Regions from separate parts of the Homo sapiens genome. Here all the other regions are linked to region 1. Evidence: promoter capture Hi-C in human tissues and cell types (Jung and others, 2019). All regions are on one chromosome and are shown on one strand. The core of a region is centred on a gene start or on the middle of the fragment in contact, and the rest is flanking DNA. Distances in the headings are between cores, read along the strand shown.

Region 1 (2,700 bases), core at 129-2,628:
GCTGCCGGGCTCATACAGTCCAACTCTGCTGCCAACTTGGGCTCCTTCGGGGCTAGCAGGAGCTTCTGACACTCAGCCAGCCAGTGCTGGGAATGCTTGTCTGCTCCCCGGCTTCCACAGCGGCTGGAGTTGAGATTTCCCACATTTCAGTCCTCTAGGGCCGAGGATGAGGATGGGGGTACCCTATGGAAGGATGGCACGGCTTCCTGCCCATCCCCAGAGGCAGACAAAAGCACCCGGCATTCCACTTCCACTCCCACTCCCATGCCTCTGGCTGCAAGCAGCAACCCCAACTACTCCGGTGGCTCTGAGGGGCTTCCACCAGGTGCCACCCGCCCAACTGGGAGGCTGCAGCCCCAGGCGACCAGTTCTCAAGAAACAAGGTCTTCTGCCCCCAAGGACCTTTCCAGTGGTATAGGGCTGGGTGTGGAGAGGAAGAGGACAAGGGCCTCTGTGCGGTTAAACCCAGAAGAGTAAAGGCAGATGGGCAGAGAGGAGTGGGTGAGCAAATTGTGTTCATGTGTGTGTATGTGTGTGCCTGTGTGTGTGTGCGCGCGCGCGCACCAGTGTGTCTGCAGGTGGGCAGGCAAGAGTTGTGGCGAAGCGTGTGCGCCAGCTGGCAGAGTGAGCCCACCGGCGCAGTGCCTGATGTGCGTGTGTAGTGGGCATAAGTGTAAAGGCTTGCAGTGAGGAGGGGGACCTGAGGTGTGTGGAGATGTGCAGGGTAGGAGTTGTGAGTGTGAGAAAGCAGCGACTGTGGCTCTGAGTGTGTCCGCGGCTGTGCATATCGGTGTGGCCATGCAGGTGTGCGTATCCGCGCGAGTGTGTGGGGAGGAGGTTCGGGGGTGCGCCCCGGGTGCCCCCTTCTCTGCAGGGCCAGGGTGCCAGGGCGGGTCCACCGCGCCGGCAGGGGGCGCCCCGGGATGCCCGCCACGACTGGCGCCGGTTCGAGCCCCGGGGCGGCCAAGTTGGAGTGGCGCGGCCCGGGTTGGGGTTTGGTGGGGAAGTCCGCGGGGGCGGCGACCGAACTCACCGTGGCCGGAGACGTGGTTGTCCCAGGGCGCGTGGCCGGCGGGCCGCGTGGCGCCGCCGAGTTGCAGGAAAAGTGCCAGGTAGTGGAGGGCGCCCAGCGCTACGGCGAGCGGGGCCCCCATCGTGCGCTCTCGGGCCGGGGGCGCCGCCGCCTCACATCTGGGCCCCGGAGACCGCAGAACCGGCGCCAGCTGTCCCCTGCCCTGAGCGGCCTGGCTGCCCGGCTCCGGCAGCTGCCCCTCGCCCGCTGTCCCCGGACCCGGCCCAGCTCCCAGCCCTCGCCCGGCTCCGGCCCAGCCCCGGCTTCGGGGAGCGAGCGCACGCCCAGCCGGCCGCCTCCGACTGCGGGACTCTTCCCTTCCGCGGAAGGCCACGCCGCGCCGCCGCCGCACCCTCCTCCCTCCTCCCGCCTCCCTCCTCCCCTCCCTCCTCCCCTCCCTCCTCCCGCTCGGAGCAGGCGGCGGAGGGATCTGCCGCTTGATTTATCATCAAAGTTTTGCCCAGGCTGGGATTTTTAAAGCGGTACCCGCAACTTTCCCCCGCCCGAGTGCGGAGGCGGGGCCGGGATGGGGCGGAGAGAGCCACCCCAGGGACGCGGTTCCCGCAAAGCACGACCCAACGGGCTTCAGCCACAGAAATGCCGTCCAGCGGGGAGAGGGAGAAAAGCCAGGGCACCCGCCGCCAGGCCAGCGCACTCAGAGGCTCCTAACTTTACCGGCAGGGCGGGGCCGGGGTCAGGGGCCAGTGGGGCTGGGGGTGAGGGCGAGGTAGGGTGGGAGCCTGGGCTGAGACCCAGGGGACCTGGTGATAGCTCTGCCGCCGACCTCGGCTCGCTGTGTGATCGCGTCCGGGTGTCTACCCCTCTCTGAACCTCGAAGTCTTCATCTGAGAAATAGGGGTAATAGCTGTCTGCGGGGGTCCTGGTGAGGATTTGCGAAATCGTGCATGCAAAGCGCTTAGCATAATGCTGCCTACGTGGTAGGAGCTCAGTAGTTATTATTGTCGGTGTTCCCCTTTCTGGGACTCAGTTTTCGAGTCTTTGTAATGGGAGAGAGACAGGCCAGTTAGTTGTTGCGGCTCCTGGCTCTTGAAGATACTGGACCTTATGTGGTGGATGGGATCGCCCCCTTCTGGACTGTAGGCTCCTTCCCTAGACCAATGAGCCTTGATGGTGTGTGTGTGCATGAGTGTGTGTGTGCGTGTGCGTGTGCGCGCGCGTATGCGTGGGTGTATGTGTGTGTGAGTGTGGCAGGGGAGGGGGATAGGGCACCATTCCCATTCCCAAGAGCAAGAATCCAACAAAGTCCTCCAGTTCCTTCCCAAGCCGTGTTACTGGGGCTGATGGGACAGACAGGAGGGCGGAACTGTGGTCCCATTTAAAAGATAAGGAAGCGCCTGAAATCAGGTAATTAGCTTCTCTGAGGTCCCACGGCGAGTCGGGCGAGGCCCCTGACTCCTGGGCGGGGTCCCTCCTGCTCTCATCCCTTGCCCTTCCCCAGGCCTCCCTGCTCACACAGCCTGGTCCTCCCGGTTTCAGCACCACGGAGGAGGACAGCGCCAGCCCCCCCCCCGCCCCCCGCCCCCCGCCCCACCCGGGCCCATCCTTTGGGCACCGTGGACAGCGTCTCAACTGGCCCTTTGATGCTAGGGTTCACACCGTGGACAGAC
Region 2 (2,700 bases), core at 69-2,568, 170 kb after region 1:
AACTACTTTGTAAACTACATGAATGCAAGCTGTTATGGTTATTATCAGCAACAGGCACAATGTACCCAACATACCACTAGAATTTAACTAAAATAATCAAAACATTTCTAGGAAAGGGTTAAATCACTTTCAAGTAAGCTCAATATCTGCTACTTTTTCTTTTCTTAGCTAACATCTTGCCCCACTCTGGAGAAAAACCACATTAGTGTTAACACAGCTCTCATGGGATTTCCGAAGTCCTAGCCTCTCCGGGGTTTGGCCTTCCCTCCTTTAATTTCTCTCCAACACTGGGGGAAAACTGAATTATCAGTCTTAGTCATCAGCCACAGCAGTATCTCCAATAGCTCAACGTCAGAAACCAGAGGGAGATTTCAGAAAGATGAATGCTGATGATGTAGCACAAAAAGGACAATAATATTTTACAAGTTCACGTGACTTTACAGGGGCAAACATCACTTGTTTTTCATCAAATGGGACTTCAGTGGCAGTGAGAAAATAACTCCTGGACTTGTAGCCTTCCATGTGTCATTTTTACAAAGCGATCTCTTTTTCCCTGTCCCTTAACAGACGGGTTGGTCCCACATTACATTTCTGTCTCCCAGGCTAGAAACCACTTACCCATGACAGCTACTATCCTAATCCTCCAGTACCAGCCTTGCCCTACATGGGAATTATACCTGCCAATTAACTGCTGCTGCAGGGCTAACAGATTGAGCAGAAGCTGGTGAGGAGGGAAGGGAGGGAGGATGTGCTACACACACTGTTTGTCTAAGCCCTGGCAAGGCTGCTGCCCTCAGAGAGGAAATTAAAAAATTCAGGACTGTCTCCCACCACGTATTTCTAAAGTGCCATCATCTTTTAGCGGGAGACCCCCAAATTAGCACTAGTACAAATCCTAATAAAGACAGAGCTATTGTCACAACACAGTAAAGACCTTTTTGGAATATGAATCCATTTTTTCTTCTTCTCAGATTCACAGCCAACCTCATTTTGTAATCCAAACTTAGCATCGTGTCTTTGAGAGAACCAAAAAACAGCTGGCTCTTAAGACTCTTATTTCCATAATTCATATTGAACAAAATGCCAGAGTGAAATAACACACAAGTTAACACTTAAAGATTTAAAAAGACACAGAGGTAAGGTCATTTTGTTTTTAATCACTGATATTTTACCTCTACTCTTCCCAGCTTCATTCATTTATTCATTCAATAAATATTTATTAAGGGCCTACCAAGAGCTAGGTATTGCTCTGGGTGCCAAAGATAGAGCTGTGAACAGAACAGAGCCAGTCTCTGTTTTCATGGGAGGCTGAGAGGAGGACAGCAATGAGCAAAATAAACAACTAGAATTTCAAATCATGATACGTGCTATGCAGACAATATACAAAATACAGTAATGAGGAAATGAGAGAATGGCTTGCAGGGCTACATAGGAAAGACTTCTTGGAGGAGGAAACATCTGAACTGAGACCTGAATGTGAAGAAACCAGTCATACAAAGCATTAAGGGAGACGAGCATTCCAACAGAGGACACAGAAGTCCAAAGGTCCAGAGGCAGGAATGAGTGGAAAGGCCCCAACGCATCTTGAGGAACAGCAAAGGGAAAGGCCCGAGGAATCTCCTTCCCTAAGCTGTACTTTTGCAGTCACACCTAAATACCTAATACTGTGGAACCCATTAAACTTCTCCACTTTTGTTGCTTTGCTAATACCATTTTCTCTGCCCAAAAAGCCCTTCCTTCCACTTGGTGAAATTTGACCCCTCTTTCAAAGATAATAATGCAAGTGCCTTCTATGTGTCCTCAGTAAGATCCAGGAAGCCTGCCCTGACCCTCCCCTACAGTACATAATATGGAACAATTTTAAAACTCTGTCACATTCTTTACATCTCATAAGATGCTTTCCCAACTGCACTAGCCCACTTAACCTTCACATTAACGCGATGAAATATGAATTCTTAACCCCATTTTACAGATGAAGATGGGAAGCTCAGACAAGCTTAGTATTTGGCCCAAAATTACGTTTTACAGGGCCAGCCATCTCAGCTCCCACCCAGCGCTGCCACGTTACCTCTTCCTCTTCCTCTTCCCCATCTCTGTCAATAATCTGCAGCAGCCTTTTTTTGTCATCATCCGCTTCCTCCACCACAGTCATTTCTTCTTCCCGATAGCGGCCGCGTTCTCGAGTACCAGTTTGTTTCCGACGCATCTTCTGCTCCTCCTCTTCATCATCCCGGGGACGTTTTGTGCCCCTATTGGGCTGAGAGAAAAGAAACATAAGATTTTAGAGCTGGATACAACATAGAAGCCAGGCGTGGTGGCTCATGCCTATAATCCCAGCACTTTGGGAGGCCAAGGCAGGCAGATCTCTTGAGCCCAGGAGTTTGAGACCAGCCTGAGGCAACATGGTAAAACCCTGACTCTACAAAAAATACAAAAAAAGACTTTGCAAGGCATAGACAGCAAATATCCTAAAAGCTTTCAAGAATTCTCTGACTCAAAAGCATCCAGCATACAACTTCTCCCACCACATGGGGTAAAGCTCTATGTGGTCATTTTTCAGATCCTTAATGATTCTATAAATATACCATGAAAGTCAGTGGGAATTTTTTTATACGCAGTTTTGCCATTTCACAAAAGTTCCTATGTATACGGAAATAGCAACAAAGCTATCTTAAGATGGGGACACTGGGTTAGGCTCAC
Region 3 (2,700 bases), core at 121-2,620, 190 kb after region 1:
TATCTTTGGGCAAGTTACCAAACCTCTGTGAGCTTCCTTTCCTCATCTGCAAAATGGAACTAAGAATATTGACTTCCCAGGGTTGCCTTTAGGATGAGATGGGATAACACACATAAGTCGAACAGCACAAAGCCTGGCTCTCAGTGGGCTTTGATACCGAGTAGTCCTCAGCCCTTTGTTTTGTTCTTTTGGCTTGGTTTCATGGGAAGGAGAAAACGTATATTCTTTTATTTCATTAAAAGTAGGAAAATTTCCATGCTCCTCTATGAGCTGCTTTGCATTCACTTAAATTCAGGAACACGCCATCCCTGTGACACCCTGCCCATAAACACAAAGTCAATCTGTCAAATGAAGAGCAAATCTGCCATTAGTGCAGAGGCAATACCTCAAGGCCAGCTGCACACCCACCCCATGATATTATCTGCCTAGGCTTGGTGTCATGCCCCTGAGAAAAGCTATGCTCAGTACATTCAGCAATCAGAAAGTTCACACGGTCAGAGGTGCCTCTGCCTCACACAAGGTGAAGCATAGCTAAAAATTGCTTTTTTAATTAAAATAAGACTTCCTCAACCGCCTGCTGACAATCACAACTAGAACATGGAGCCCAGAATCAGTTAACCAGTCTCCATTCTGCTCTAATGGTGGTTTTAAGCACTCAGAGAGGGGAGGGGGAAAAAATTACCAATTTAAACAAAATGTTTAATCTTCTAATTATGGGACAGGCTCCAAGAGGATGGGAAGTGATTTGCAGTCTTCATTATGGAATCCCCACGCAACCACTGGCACAAGTCATGTCAGCCAGAGGCACATGCCATCTTTTTCCCCCACTGAGCCTTCTGTGTCCTTGCAAGTTTTGTGGGAATGGAAAAAGAAATCTTCAGTCAAAAAAAATGGGGCTGAAGCTTACGAATTTCTGTCTCCAAGTTCATCATGCTGAGTGAGGTGTAAGGATCCCCAGTGAGCAGCCAGGGAGACAATATTCAGTGACTTTACATTGGCAAGCTTAGCAGCCCTTTGAAACTCTAAAATCTTATAAAAACTGCCCAGGTCCGGTGGTGCTTAAGCCATTTTTTAAAAAATTTGCTGAAAAGTCCTGTCATCAGCACTAAGAGATGCACTGAAAATTAGGGTGGTGCCCACCAACGGCACTTCTGGTCGGAAGGAAATCTGTTCCTCTGCAGATATGCTTGTATCTTTGCTAATTTGTGTTATCTCTGCCCGTTCATATCTCTATGTGCTAACTCAGGAGAAAAAGTCCCTGCCAACCAACTCTGACAAGTCTGATGGCAGAACTCCCAGTGGAGATCCAGCAGAGACAGCAGAGGCAGGCAATTATTCCCTTTCATTAGGAACAGTTCTTTTTAAGTTTGGGTGTTTTGTATTAGTATTATTTTGAACACAAAAAGTAGCCATTCACAATCGCTGCTCAATGCAGTCACTTACACAACTGACAGCAACTGTAATTTCCCCATAAGCCAATTGAAAAAGATGGCCTGGAAGTAACTAGAAATGGTTGTGCCCCCTTAATTACCCACTGTAATGTAAAACCAGACATGGAGAGAATGGCCATAGCAGATCTGGGCAAAGTGGCAGTGATATTTAATCATCACTTCAGACCATCTGCAACTGTTTTGCAGAAGCACATCAAGTTTATAGATTCTAAAGCTTCCTACAAGTTACCAGGTGCTGAGGGTCAGCTGCATTGTCCTCAGGCCATGAGGGGATGCTTTCTTCATTCTCTCCAGGCCAGGGCGCTCAACAAAAGGCACGATGCCCACATTTTCTGAGCCAAGCCTGGCACAAGGAGAGCGCTGCTTCTTGATTAAGCCAGAACACAGATTAAATGTTTAGAAGTGGAGATTGTGAAAACAACCTAGGCGGGAAAGCAATTATCCCAGGGACAGCATGGCTTCAGCTGAGGCCCTCTGCAGCACAAAGGTGAATTCCACACCCTCCCACAGCTAAGCTGGCCAGAATGCTCCTCTACAATTCTCCACTCTGTAGATGAAGCCATCTTTTAAAACGTAAACCAAATTGTGTCACTCGACAGCTTAAAACCCCTAATGGCTTCCCATGGTGCTAGGAATAAAGTTAAAAAATGTTAGGATTCTCCCTCCTCCCCGAAGCTGACCCCTCTGTCCTTATCAACTGTCCCCTCTTCACTCACCAAGCTCTGGCCATACATGACAAGTCTGTTCCCACCTCAGAGTTTTTGTTTTGGCTTTTCCCTTGATCTTTACTGCCAGTCCCACAGCTCTTCATATGTCTGGATCTTTCTCATCATTTAGTTCACAGCTCAAATGTCACCTCTCAAAGAGGCCTTCTAGAACCTTCCAAAATAAACAGCCACTGCTCCCCCAACACTATATTACATCAGCCTATTTTTTTCCTTCATATTCCTATTTGAAATTATCTTGTTTTTATTTATCTAGTATGTGTTTGCTTGTTTAGGTATTGTTATTCATTGTCTGTCTTGCCTCCCTGGATGTAAGTTCCATAAAGACAGGGACTACAACTATCCTGTTTAGCACTTTATTCCCAACGTCTAGTGTAATACCTTACATTTAGTAGGCATTTAATAAATATGTATGGAATGATTAAAGAATGACAGGTTCAATATGGAGCACTAATCCAAATGAAATTTGCTAACCGCCCCAAAATCTGGATTGTCTCACAGCCTGACTAGCAGCATATGTTACA

What was found. Contacts are between HindIII fragments. The study calls those that stand out against the background at their distance.
Region 2: a contact is called between a fragment that was not itself captured here and the fragment with the promoter of VSTM2L in region 1, in 4 of the 25 tissues and cell types used here (H1 embryonic stem cells, IMR-90 fibroblasts, dorsolateral prefrontal cortex and 1 more).
Region 3: a contact is called between a fragment that was not itself captured here and the fragment with the promoter of VSTM2L in region 1, in 5 of the 25 tissues and cell types used here (H1 embryonic stem cells, bladder, dorsolateral prefrontal cortex and 2 more).

Annotation. Positions count from the first base shown.
Region 1 is chr20:37,901,805-37,904,504 of GRCh38, reverse strand. It overlaps VSTM2L (V-set and transmembrane domain containing 2 like), which reads right to left and starts at 1,378. Exons shown (of 4, transcript NM_080607.3): 1 at 1,034-1,378. The coding sequence starts at 1,154. All of the region lies in intron 2 of LOC124904896 (a long non-coding RNA gene), which reads left to right. RefSeq lists an enhancer at 1,115-2,078. The HindIII fragment of the contact is 19,122 bases long and covers 1-2,700 here.
Region 2 is chr20:37,732,436-37,735,135 of GRCh38, reverse strand. It overlaps CTNNBL1 (catenin beta like 1), which reads right to left. Exons shown (of 16, transcript NM_030877.5): 2 at 2,069-2,257. Among named protein-coding and RNA genes, the nearest start is that of CTNNBL1, 40 kb to the right of the region's middle. The HindIII fragment of the contact is 3,761 bases long and covers 1-2,700 here.
Region 3 is chr20:37,711,311-37,714,010 of GRCh38, reverse strand. The region is part of intron 1 of CTNNBL1 (catenin beta like 1); the gene reads right to left. Among named protein-coding and RNA genes, the nearest start is that of CTNNBL1, 19 kb to the right of the region's middle. The HindIII fragment of the contact is 3,882 bases long and covers 1-2,700 here.